2 separate regions of the Homo sapiens genome follow, and region 1 is linked to region 2. Evidence: promoter capture Hi-C in human tissues and cell types (Jung and others, 2019). All regions are on one chromosome and are shown on one strand. The core of a region is centred on a gene start or on the middle of the fragment in contact, and the rest is flanking DNA. Distances in the headings are between cores, read along the strand shown. Region 1 has its middle 12 kb from the start of LIMCH1-AS1. Region 2 holds the start of TMEM33 (transmembrane protein 33).

Region 1 (5,207 bases), core at 2,048-4,547, 230 kb after region 2:
TAAGATAATTTTGAGAAAGGAAGTTTGCTGTTCTGGACAGCAAGACTTAATATAAAAATATAGTAATTAAAATAGTGTCATAATAGTGTAGACATATATGAATATATTAATGAAATGGAATAAATTCCCAGAAACAGACTCTTAGATATATGCAAATCAGTATCCCACAGGAGTGATATTACAAATCAACAGGGAAAGGATGGGTTTTTAAGGGGTTCTGGGAAAATCGACTATCCAAAGAGGAAAAACATTAGATCCCTACATCACTTGATAAAGATCCAAATGTCAAATTCAAAACTTTAAGAATTTTAAGAGTATGTAGCAGGATACCTTTATGCAAGCAATTGATAAAAGATTGGGATCTAGAATATTTACACAACCCCTATAAAGCTGTATGAATAATAAAGCCATTTGGTTGGGTGTGGTGGCTCCCAATATTTTGAGAGGATGAGGCAGGTGGATCACCTGAGGTCAGGAGTTGGAGACCAGCCTGGCCAACATGGTGAAACCCTCTCTCTACTAAAAATACAAAAAATGATCTGGCATGGTGGTGCATGCCTGTAATCCCAGATACTGGGGAGGTTGAGGCAGGAGAATTGCTTGAATCCCAGAGGCGGAGGCTGCAGTAAGCTGAGATGGCACCACTGCACTCCAGCCTGGGTGACAGAGCAAGACCCTGTCTCAAATAATAATAATAATAATAATAATAATAATAATAATAATAATAATAATAAGAAAGCCATTCAATAGGAAAATTGGCAAATGAAATGAACAGGTAATTAACAGAAGTGGAAATTGGTCCATTTGTGTGTCCAGAAGTCCAATAGAGATATGAAAATATGCCCATTTCAGCCTCACCATTAGTCAGGAGAACATAAATTTAAGCAATGCCTTCCATCAGAAAGGCAAAAAAAATTAAGAAACCAGAGATACCAACTTTTGAGTATGATGTGGGGAAATAGGATCTTCTATGCTTTGTTAAACTATTTGGAGCAATCACTTTGGAAAGCAGTTTGTCAATATTTAGTAGGGCTGAAGGTACTCATAACAAAACAAAACTTACGAATAAATGTGAAAACATAAAAAGGCAATGAAGTTGATAGCCCCTGTCTATCCTCCTTGATAGGGATCCCCTTCCTCCTGCACCAAATCCTGGATTTTGTTTGTGTTAATCTTTTGTTTTGATTTGCTCTTTTATTGTTATATCAGGTAATCCCAGAGACTATAATGCTTAGTTTTCTATTGTCTTTGAGCTTCATAGCAATGATGTTGTACTGTATGTAATTATGGGTGCCTTGCTATTTTAACCTTATATTTTCTGAGATTCACCTAAATATATGTGTATACTCTGCAGTTCACTCATTTTTCACTACTAAAATAGAATACCATAATATCCAAACGGTGCTGTGAAGGACTTTCTTGAACACGTCTCCCAGGGCACGTGGGTGAGAGTTTTCTTGAGCTTCTCTAGCGTTTAGGTTAAGGTATTTATGTTCTAGAAGTGAAATTGCTATGTCAAGGGGTATGAGCTTCATCAGCTTCACTAGATAATACAGAATTGTCTACCAATACACATTCTTTTTTTTTCTTTTTTTCCTTCTACTTTTAAGTCAGGGGAACATGTGCAGGATGTGCAGGTTTGTTACACAGGTAAATGTGTGCCATGGTGGTTTGCTGCACAGATCGTCCTTTCACCTAGGTATTAAGCCCAGCATCTGCAAGCTATTCTTCCTACTCTCCCTCTCCCCACAGGCCCCAGTATGTGGTATTCTCCTCCCTGTGTCTATGTGTTCTCATTGTTCAGCTTCCACTTATAAGTGAGAACATGCGGTGTTTGGTTTTCTGTTCCTGCGTTAGTTTGCTGAGGATAGCAGCTTCCAGCTCCATCCATGTCCCTGCAAAGGACATGATCTCATTCCTTTTTATGGCTGCATAGTATTCCATGGTGTGTATGTACCACATTTTCTTTATCCAGTCTATCACTGATGGGCATTTGGGTTGATTCCATGTCTTTGCTATTGTAAAAAGTGCTGCAGTGAACATATGTGTGCTTGTATCTTTATAACAGAATAATTAATATCCCTTTGGGTATATACCCAGTAATGGGATTGCTGGGTCAAATGGTATTTCTGCATCTAGATCTTTGAGGAATTGCCACACTGTCTTCCACAATGATTGAACTAGTTTACACTCCCACCAATAGTGTAAAACATTCCTTTTTCTCTGCAACCTCGGCATCATTTGTTTTTGACTTTTTAATAATCGCCATTCTGACTGGCATGATATACTGTCTCACTGTTTTACCAATATACGTTCTTATCAGTAGTGTATGAGTTCCTATTGTTCCACATCCTCACTAACACTTGGTCTTATCAAAACTTTAAATTTCTATCAGCTTGGCTTGTATAAAATGGTATCTCATAACGGCTTAAACTTATATTTCCTCCCTAAAAATATGGAATATATTTGTGTGTTTTGCTATTCATGTTTTCTATGAAATGCCCATCATGTCTTTTGTTGTTTTCTGTTGATCTGTTTGTATTTTTCTTATTGATGTTCTGGAGTTACTTATATATTTTGGATACTAATTGATTTATGTGCAACCAATCTCTTGGGTTGTAGCTTTTTAAAAACTTTCTTTTCACCATATAGAAGTTCTTAATTCTTAACAAAGTTAAATAATTTTCTGTTTTTGGGGAGATAGGAGGAGTCTTGTCTTACTGTTTTTGTTTGTTTGTTTTGTAGAGACAGGGGTTTCCTTTATTGTCCAGGCTGGTCTCGAACTCCTGGGCTCAAGTGATACTCCTGCTTCATGCCTCCCAAAGTGCTGGGATTATAGGTGTGAGCCACCAGGGCCAGCCATCAATCTTACTGTTGTTTTAATTTGCATTTCTATATCTCTAGTATGGTTGAAAATTTTTTGGTATTTATTGGCCATTATATTTCTCTGTGAGTCTATGTACATTTCCTATTGATTAGTAAAAAGCTTTCATAGTTTATGGCTATTAGCTCTTTGTTATATTTGTTGGAAATATTTTCCCCAGCTTTTTATTATTTTTAAAATTTGCCTTCAATTCTCTTTATTGAGTATGTATTTAAACATATTTAAGCCTATCTTTTCTTTTCCTGCACTTAACACGTTACTCTACCTGAATTAATTTTATTGTAAACAAATGATGTTAATCAACTATCCCTCCTCTGGTCATTGAAACACTATTATTATACACTAAAGTTTTTATGTTTATTTGGATTTGTATATCATATTCATTGCTGTGACAGTTACAATCAGTTTATCAATTAGTTTATCAATTCTTGCCCGAGATAGGTACTTTATTATCTTTACAGTAAATTTTACTGTTGGGCAAGGCAAATTCCAGTAAATTTTACTGTTGGGCAAGGCAAATTCCTTTGATTATTCCTTTTTTTTTTTAAAAACACATCTCAGAAAGGCATTCTCCAAGTCTAATCAATGATTCCATGTTTCCCAGAATGTTATCATATCAACAAGATGAAGTTTCTCGATTTTCAAGGTATTAGACAATCACAGATTTTCACGGATTCAGGAGGAAGTGTTCAATACTCCAGGGTCAGACGTTGGGTTAGTCATTAATTCCATAGCAAAGGAGCATGAGTGTAGTGCTTGAGAAAATGTTGGACAGATGCTCCCTATAGCTCTGTAGAGTCATCCTCAGCCAGCCAAGGTGTTTTCTAAGACCACAGGACCTGCTGAAATAATTCTCTATCTACCTGGTGAATAATAAAGAACACAAGCTATCACAGACAATGCCATTATTCCTGCTAAAAACTGAAAACACTTTCATTCATGGATCAATGGATCTATTTGAGTGAAATAATATTGTGATATGGGAACCAATGTGGGGTGCCATCAGAATCCTTTCTCCATCGGGATGGTTAGAAAGAGACCCTCCCTTTGTTCAGGTCTGGGCTGAGTTTGAGTTTGAGGTTTGGCTATGAAGCAAAAGTTGAGTGGGACAATGTGTTATCTATTAGGCAGCACTAGTTTTTCCTTGACTCTGGAAATTAGACTTTGGGAGGGAACAGGAGGTTTTGGAGATGGTATGTGTTAGGGAGAGGTCAGTGGGCTCTGGTCAGGGGTGTGGTTGGCACAGACAGACTCCTCAGCCTCTACTGCAGCAACCACCAAGGTGCCCAAAGCCTTGCCACAAAGGAAAGCTCCACTTTTCTTTCCAGAGTAAAAAAATCAAATCACAAGAGGAAAAAAACAAAAATACTGCTGTGGTTCGGATATTTGTCCCCTCCAAACCTTATGTTAAAATTTGTTCCTCAGTGTTGGAGGTGGGGCCTAACGGGAGGTGTTTAGGTCATGGGGGTGGATCCCTCATGAATAGATTAAAGCTCCTACTCAAGGGTGAGTGAGTTCTCGCTCTATCAGTTTCAATAAGAGCTGGTTGTTAGAGCCAGCCTGGCATCCCCACTCCCACCCGCTCTTCTTGCTTCCTCTCTCACCATGTGATCTCTGCATGTGCCAGCTCCCCTTCACCTTCTGCTATGAGTGGAAGCCACCTGCAGCCCTCATCAGATGCAGATGCCCAATCTTGAACTTTTACAGACAGCAGAATCATTAGCCAATACTTTATTTATAAATTACCCAGTCTCAGGCATTCTTATAGCAACACAAAAGGGACTAAGACAAACAGTCCATTGAGTATTTGTTTATATGCGTAAATTTACTATAAAAAGAGTGTTCTAGTCTCTGTTTGGGTGCAGATGAAATCCTACCAAGGTCTAGCTATGGTCAAAGGTCCTCCTAGTTGGTCTGGAATAAGATCCCAGACACAGGCACCAGGAACAGTTGGATAGGAAATTATCCTGATCCACCCTGACTGGGGACAGAGGGTGAAATACACAATTATGTAAAATCTTATACTCATCCAGAATAAGCCACTTATCCCTCTCATACTTCAGTTTCTCACCTGTAAAATGAGAAGGCATACATCTATGTTCTCACATGCCAGAAATACTATTTGATAAGTAAAACAATACTTGCAAAAGCGCATTTGGTAAAATGATGCCAAACAAATTTAGGAAAAATTCTAGTCTGTCTATTTGCACACTTTTCTGTCCTTTTGAGTCACTCAGAAGCATGAACGTAACCATTAAGGGGAAGGGCACAGTTGGGCAAAACACTGAACACGGGCATTTGTGAAATAGTAATGTTTGATGAC
Region 2 (5,007 bases), core at 2,124-4,623:
GTCCCTAAACCCTTTACAGGTTAATAAGTCTTACACCTAAAAGGCACTCCATATAAACTGACTCAACAATTGAATATCAAAGGCAGCAATATGTATAATACATACCCAAGAAGAGGCAGAACAAACAGAGCAGAGCAGTAAACTGTGAACAAGCGAGAAAGCCACATTGCCGTGTCCAGTTTATTGGTCATCATGAATTGCTAAATTTAAAAAGAAAAATACTGTAAGCTATGCCTGCAAATCATGTTTTTAAGCATCAAGACTGTGTGGTTTTTATGTCTACTCAAAATATTTTAATCTTCCTCCATTTGTTTTTTTAGATCATTAGGTGAAAACTCTAAGGCAATTACATGTTTCATGTATATGCTTAATGAGAAGTCCAAACACCTTATAGTTTTCATGTGGAAAGCACAAGAAGTACTTAAACAGAAATAAATAGAAAAATATCAGCTGACATTTTAAAAAAATGCAAAGACTAATTAATTAGAAAAAATAATCTTAACAGAAATTCAACTACAATTGTCTGTGTTCCTTTAACACTTGCAATATTGGCTTCATCTATTTTAAAAGAACATTAAACAAAAACTAATTGCTCTCAAGAGATCCATATGCCTATTCTTAGCAAAAAATCTCAAATCCGAATAGGTAGGTCTCAGAGCTGAGTAAAACATCACATAAAGCCAGTTGGGATTAAAGAAACCTTTTGAAGAAGAAATATAAAACCATGATAGTAGTAACAACTAAACTCATTCGCCTTGTAATCTGCCTACATGCACAAGGGCCTGGCATACTCTAGGTGCTCAAAATGTGGCTGACAGGTATTAAATGGCCACCTGCCTCTCTGATTACACCACTCTCTTTATCACCTCCATGTTCCCCCACAAGTCTTACCCTAGTTTCGGTGGTCCTAGATTAAACTTTCCTATACCATTTTCTTCCCCCATTTTTTTCCCATTCTATCTTTCCTTTGCTGCTTTCCCCCCAATACTTATGTCTATTACCACTAAAGCAGAATCTTAAAATGTGTTTTCTCATTAAAATGTATCTTATATTCAAAAGTGGCTTTTACATTTTTTGTCTAGGATCTTCGTAATTTTAACATTGAGATCCATATACATGGATATATAAACAAAAGTTTCACAAATATTTACCCTACTGTATATAATGGATTTTGACATTTTCTATTTAATTTTTTAAAAATAGCTGGTGTTTACACTAAACTGACTTCTCAACTCACTAATGGGTCTACCTGAAGTCTAAAAACACTGCTCTATGTAATTTAATTTCATTATCTTTTGAAAAAAAAATATAAAAAATTTGAGGGAAAAATCCAAGTACATTGTAAAATTCCAGGCTGTTTTATTTTATGTCTTTTTAACCCACATGTAGGTAATTTCAGAAATATGAAATACAACTTTGATTTATCATTAAATCCAGACTTACCGTACTGTGACTCCAATAAACTGAAATGATTAGCAGTAATCAAGTGAAGGATGAATCCAGCTTACTGTGCTCAGTTTCTCAACAAATATTATGACTGGGCACCACAGCTTGAAAGTTAGTTTTAGAACATTCTCCTTAAAATCTATTTGTTCAGGTTGTTTATTCTGCAATAAATCATTGAGCTATGCGTTTCATTTTGTACACACTTATGTATATTATACAATTTTAAAAGTTTAAGAAAGTCTATTGGTATACATTTTTTAAGAGTAAACTGTCCAACCATCAGGCAAAAAAAAAAAAAAATCACTAGATCTTTGGGTGAAAAATTGTTGAGGAGCAATATTCACACAGTGTCACAGTATCATGCCAAAGAACACTTTTTAATTAGAAAGGAAAAAAGGTATCTTTACAATGGAGAAACTGGTGGACACCACCTTAATCAAATAATCAAACAAATTCTGCAATGATGGGATAAATCAATGTAAAATGCTTCCTGATATATAATATAGATATACATATTAGATGTACCTATATATGCTGCAAAACATGTCTGGACTCTTGAAAACTATCAGTATCTTAAAAGACAAAAAAGGGGAGGAGAGGGCAGAACTGTTCTAGATTAAAAGGCAGTAAACAAGATATGGCCAGTAAATTGAATGCATGCTTTCTGAGATAGGGTCTCGCTCTGTCACCCCAGGCTGGAGCGCAAAAGCACAACCCACCTCAGCCTCCTGAGTAGCTGGGACTATGCTGGGACTATAGGAGCGCACCTCCACGACCGGCTAATTTATGTTTGTTTGTTTGTTTGTTTGTTTTGAGAGAAGGTTTTGCTCTATCACCCAGGCTGGAGTGCAGTGGCGCGATCTTGGCTCACGGCAGCTTCAACTTCTCGGGCGCAAGCGATCCACCCGCCTTGGCCTCCCAAAGTGCTGAGATTACAGGCGTGAGCCACCACGCCCCGCCTAATTTCTTTGATTTCTAGTAGAGATGAGGTCTCGCTATGTTTCCAAGGCTGGTCTCTAACTCCTGAACTCAAGCGATCCTCCCGCCTTGGACTCCCAAAGTTCTGGGCTTACAGGAGTGAGCCACTGCGCCAGCCCATCGATGCATGCTTTTTGACAGAATCCCAGATGAAGAGAAAGCAGCTTTAAAGGACAATTATGGAAATTTGCACATGGATTTTATATTAGGTAATATTTCCCAAATGTGGTAACTGCATTGTGGTCACACAGAATAATACTTAACTACTTATGGATTAAAAAGTAGAGGACAGCAATGCTCCGGGCACAAATAACTTGTTAGCTCCAGATCAGCATCTTAAAAAAATTACAAAAGCATAATGATATTTCTCTTCATAAAGAACAAAGTGAAGAAGAAAAAGACCACCGCTCTCCTCCCTTTGCATAATTTCTATATACGATTGTATAAACTAGGCAGAAACGTTCTTTGCCGGCACTCGTGTGCTCCACGTGGTGTGTGTCATGGATCATGTGTGTCATGGCACAATCTCATGCGGCATCTTTAACCTTGGGGCCTACGGTAAACAAAAGACCGAGGTGGGAGAAGAGGAAAGAAGGCCCAATTTCCATGGCATACAGGTGGGGGCCACCAGCTCCAGGTCAGCCTATTGTCGCTTCAGAAACAAACTTGTAGTTCCCTCCATATCTTCGCTCAGGACCTCCCCTCTCCCCGCTCCAACTTCCCCACCCCAACTCATTAATCCCATTCCTGAATGCACTGAGCTTCTGGAACGCCTCGGGACTCGCAACGCTTCCTGCTTCTTCCTAACTCTTGCAAATCAAGCCAGACTACCCTGCCCTCGCACTTACCACAGCGCCCGCCCCTTGGGGGCCGTTCGGGGTCGTATCTGCCATGGGGGCTCACACTAGCGTCTGCGACGCCGCAACCGCGAAGAGAGAAGAAAGGGGAGAGAAAACGTCAGCGCTGGGGCCAGGACCCGGGTACCGGCTTCCCTGCCTCGCGCCACACACAGGCCGGATGCACCCTGCCGGAACTCTGAGCCTCCACCAGGGAAGGGTCTCGCTCGCCTGGTGCAGCCGACTGGATCCAGGGCACCCGCAGCAGCCGGGAGGTACCTGTCCCGCACCGCCGAGATCAAAGCGGTGTTTCCAGAAAGACGGGAGCGAAGGTGGAGCTTCGGGGTGAAGCCCTAAAGAGCCAACCTACGCCGCCGGCTCCAGGTTATTGCCGAACCCGGAAGTGCTCCTTTCATTTCCGTGGGGAAGAGGCGGTGACAAAGAGGGGGAAACGGGAGCGGTGCCCAGAGGCATGACGGGAAGTGTGGTTTTTTTCTCCTAATTTGAGCCCCACCTGTCCTTCCGCCGATTGGCCCAGTGAGCTAAGAAATCAGGATGGGGGAGCAACTTTTGCATTAAATACAGCTCACAAATGATCTTTCCTGCCCATTCTCAAACCATGAAATTTCCGCACTTCCTGATATAGAGGCCTCAGAAACATCTTTGATTCCTTTCTCCAGGGGCTTACTAAGCCCGTTGGTTCTACGTCTATTATTAATTCTTTCAATAAGTATTTATGAGGCCTGCTATGTGACAGGCTCCATACTTGGCACGGCGGATAAAAAGAGGAATATGACACAGATTGCAAAAGAGAAACAAGTAAACGGAAATCAGAGCATAGTGATTGTGTAATATGTGTAGAGGCTGATTTAATCACAGGGAGCACAGAGGACGGTACCTAAATCAGAAGGGATCTGGGGAGGTTTCCTGGAAAAGGTAAGTCCGGGCCTTGATCTTGAACGACAAAAAGTTGGCTGAAAGTGTTACTGGTGTAGGGTGTCCAAGTTCTTGGCGTTTTGAACATAGAATTGGACAAAACGCACAAAGCAAGGAAAGAATAAAGCAACAAAAGCAGAGATTTGTTGAAAATGAAAGTACACTCCAGAGTGTGGGAGAGTGAGACAGCAGCTCAAGGGCCCTGGATACAGAGTCTTCTCGGGTCCAAATACCCCCTAGAGGTTTCCCATTGGCCACTTGGAGTTCACTTCATGTAAATGAAGTGGTGGCCCGCAATCAGTCTGAATGGTTGCGCAAAGCAACCAATCAGAGGCTGAAGAAGTTACAAAGTTACACTTCTATGCAAACGTCTGATTGGTTACAAAAAGCAACCAATCAGAGGTACTTTCAATTTCCCAAATCTGCGCAGAACAGGTTGGGGCTTGCAAAGGGAGTAGTATCTGGCCCTTTATTCACTTAAGCGTGGACAGTAAGGATTTTCCTTCAATTTAGTTCTAGGAAGTCAGCGAGAAAGGGCATTAGGTTCCCTACCGCCATACCATATTCTTCTGCCTTAAAACGGGAAGGGAACTCCATACAGAGTAACAGAAAGTGCAAGAAGTAACAGGACAGCGAGAGGACTAGTTGAGTGTGACCAGAATGATGGTACCAGTCAGGGGATTGTGAAAGATTTGCGCTAGAGAGGCAGGCAGGGGTGTACTGAGGAAAGGATCTGAACTTGACCCTGAAATCCAGAGAACCATGGAACAATTTTAATCAGAAGTGTGACATCCTGAGATTTAGAAAGTTC

What was found. The method cuts DNA at HindIII sites, captures the fragments that hold promoters and counts their contacts. A contact is called where the count stands out against the background at its distance.
Region 1: a contact is called between a fragment that was not itself captured here and the fragment with the promoter of TMEM33 in region 2, in 1 of the 25 tissues and cell types used here (H1 embryonic stem cells).

What each region holds. Positions count from the first base shown.
Region 1 is chr4:41,702,165-41,707,371 of GRCh38, reverse strand. No RefSeq gene overlaps it. Among named protein-coding and RNA genes, the nearest start is that of LIMCH1-AS1, 12 kb to the right of the region's middle. The HindIII fragment of the contact is 3,651 bases long and covers 1,472-5,122 here.
Region 2 is chr4:41,933,795-41,938,801 of GRCh38, reverse strand. It overlaps TMEM33 (transmembrane protein 33), which reads right to left and starts at 3,373. Exons shown (of 7, transcript NM_018126.3): 1 at 3,273-3,373; 2 at 106-200. The coding sequence starts at 3,317. LOC105374426 (a long non-coding RNA gene) reads left to right here and starts at 4,127. Exons shown (of 3, transcript NR_188374.1): 1 at 4,127-4,196. RefSeq lists enhancers at 2,984-3,053, 3,064-3,113, 3,354-3,533. The HindIII fragment of the contact is 16,795 bases long and covers 1-5,007 here.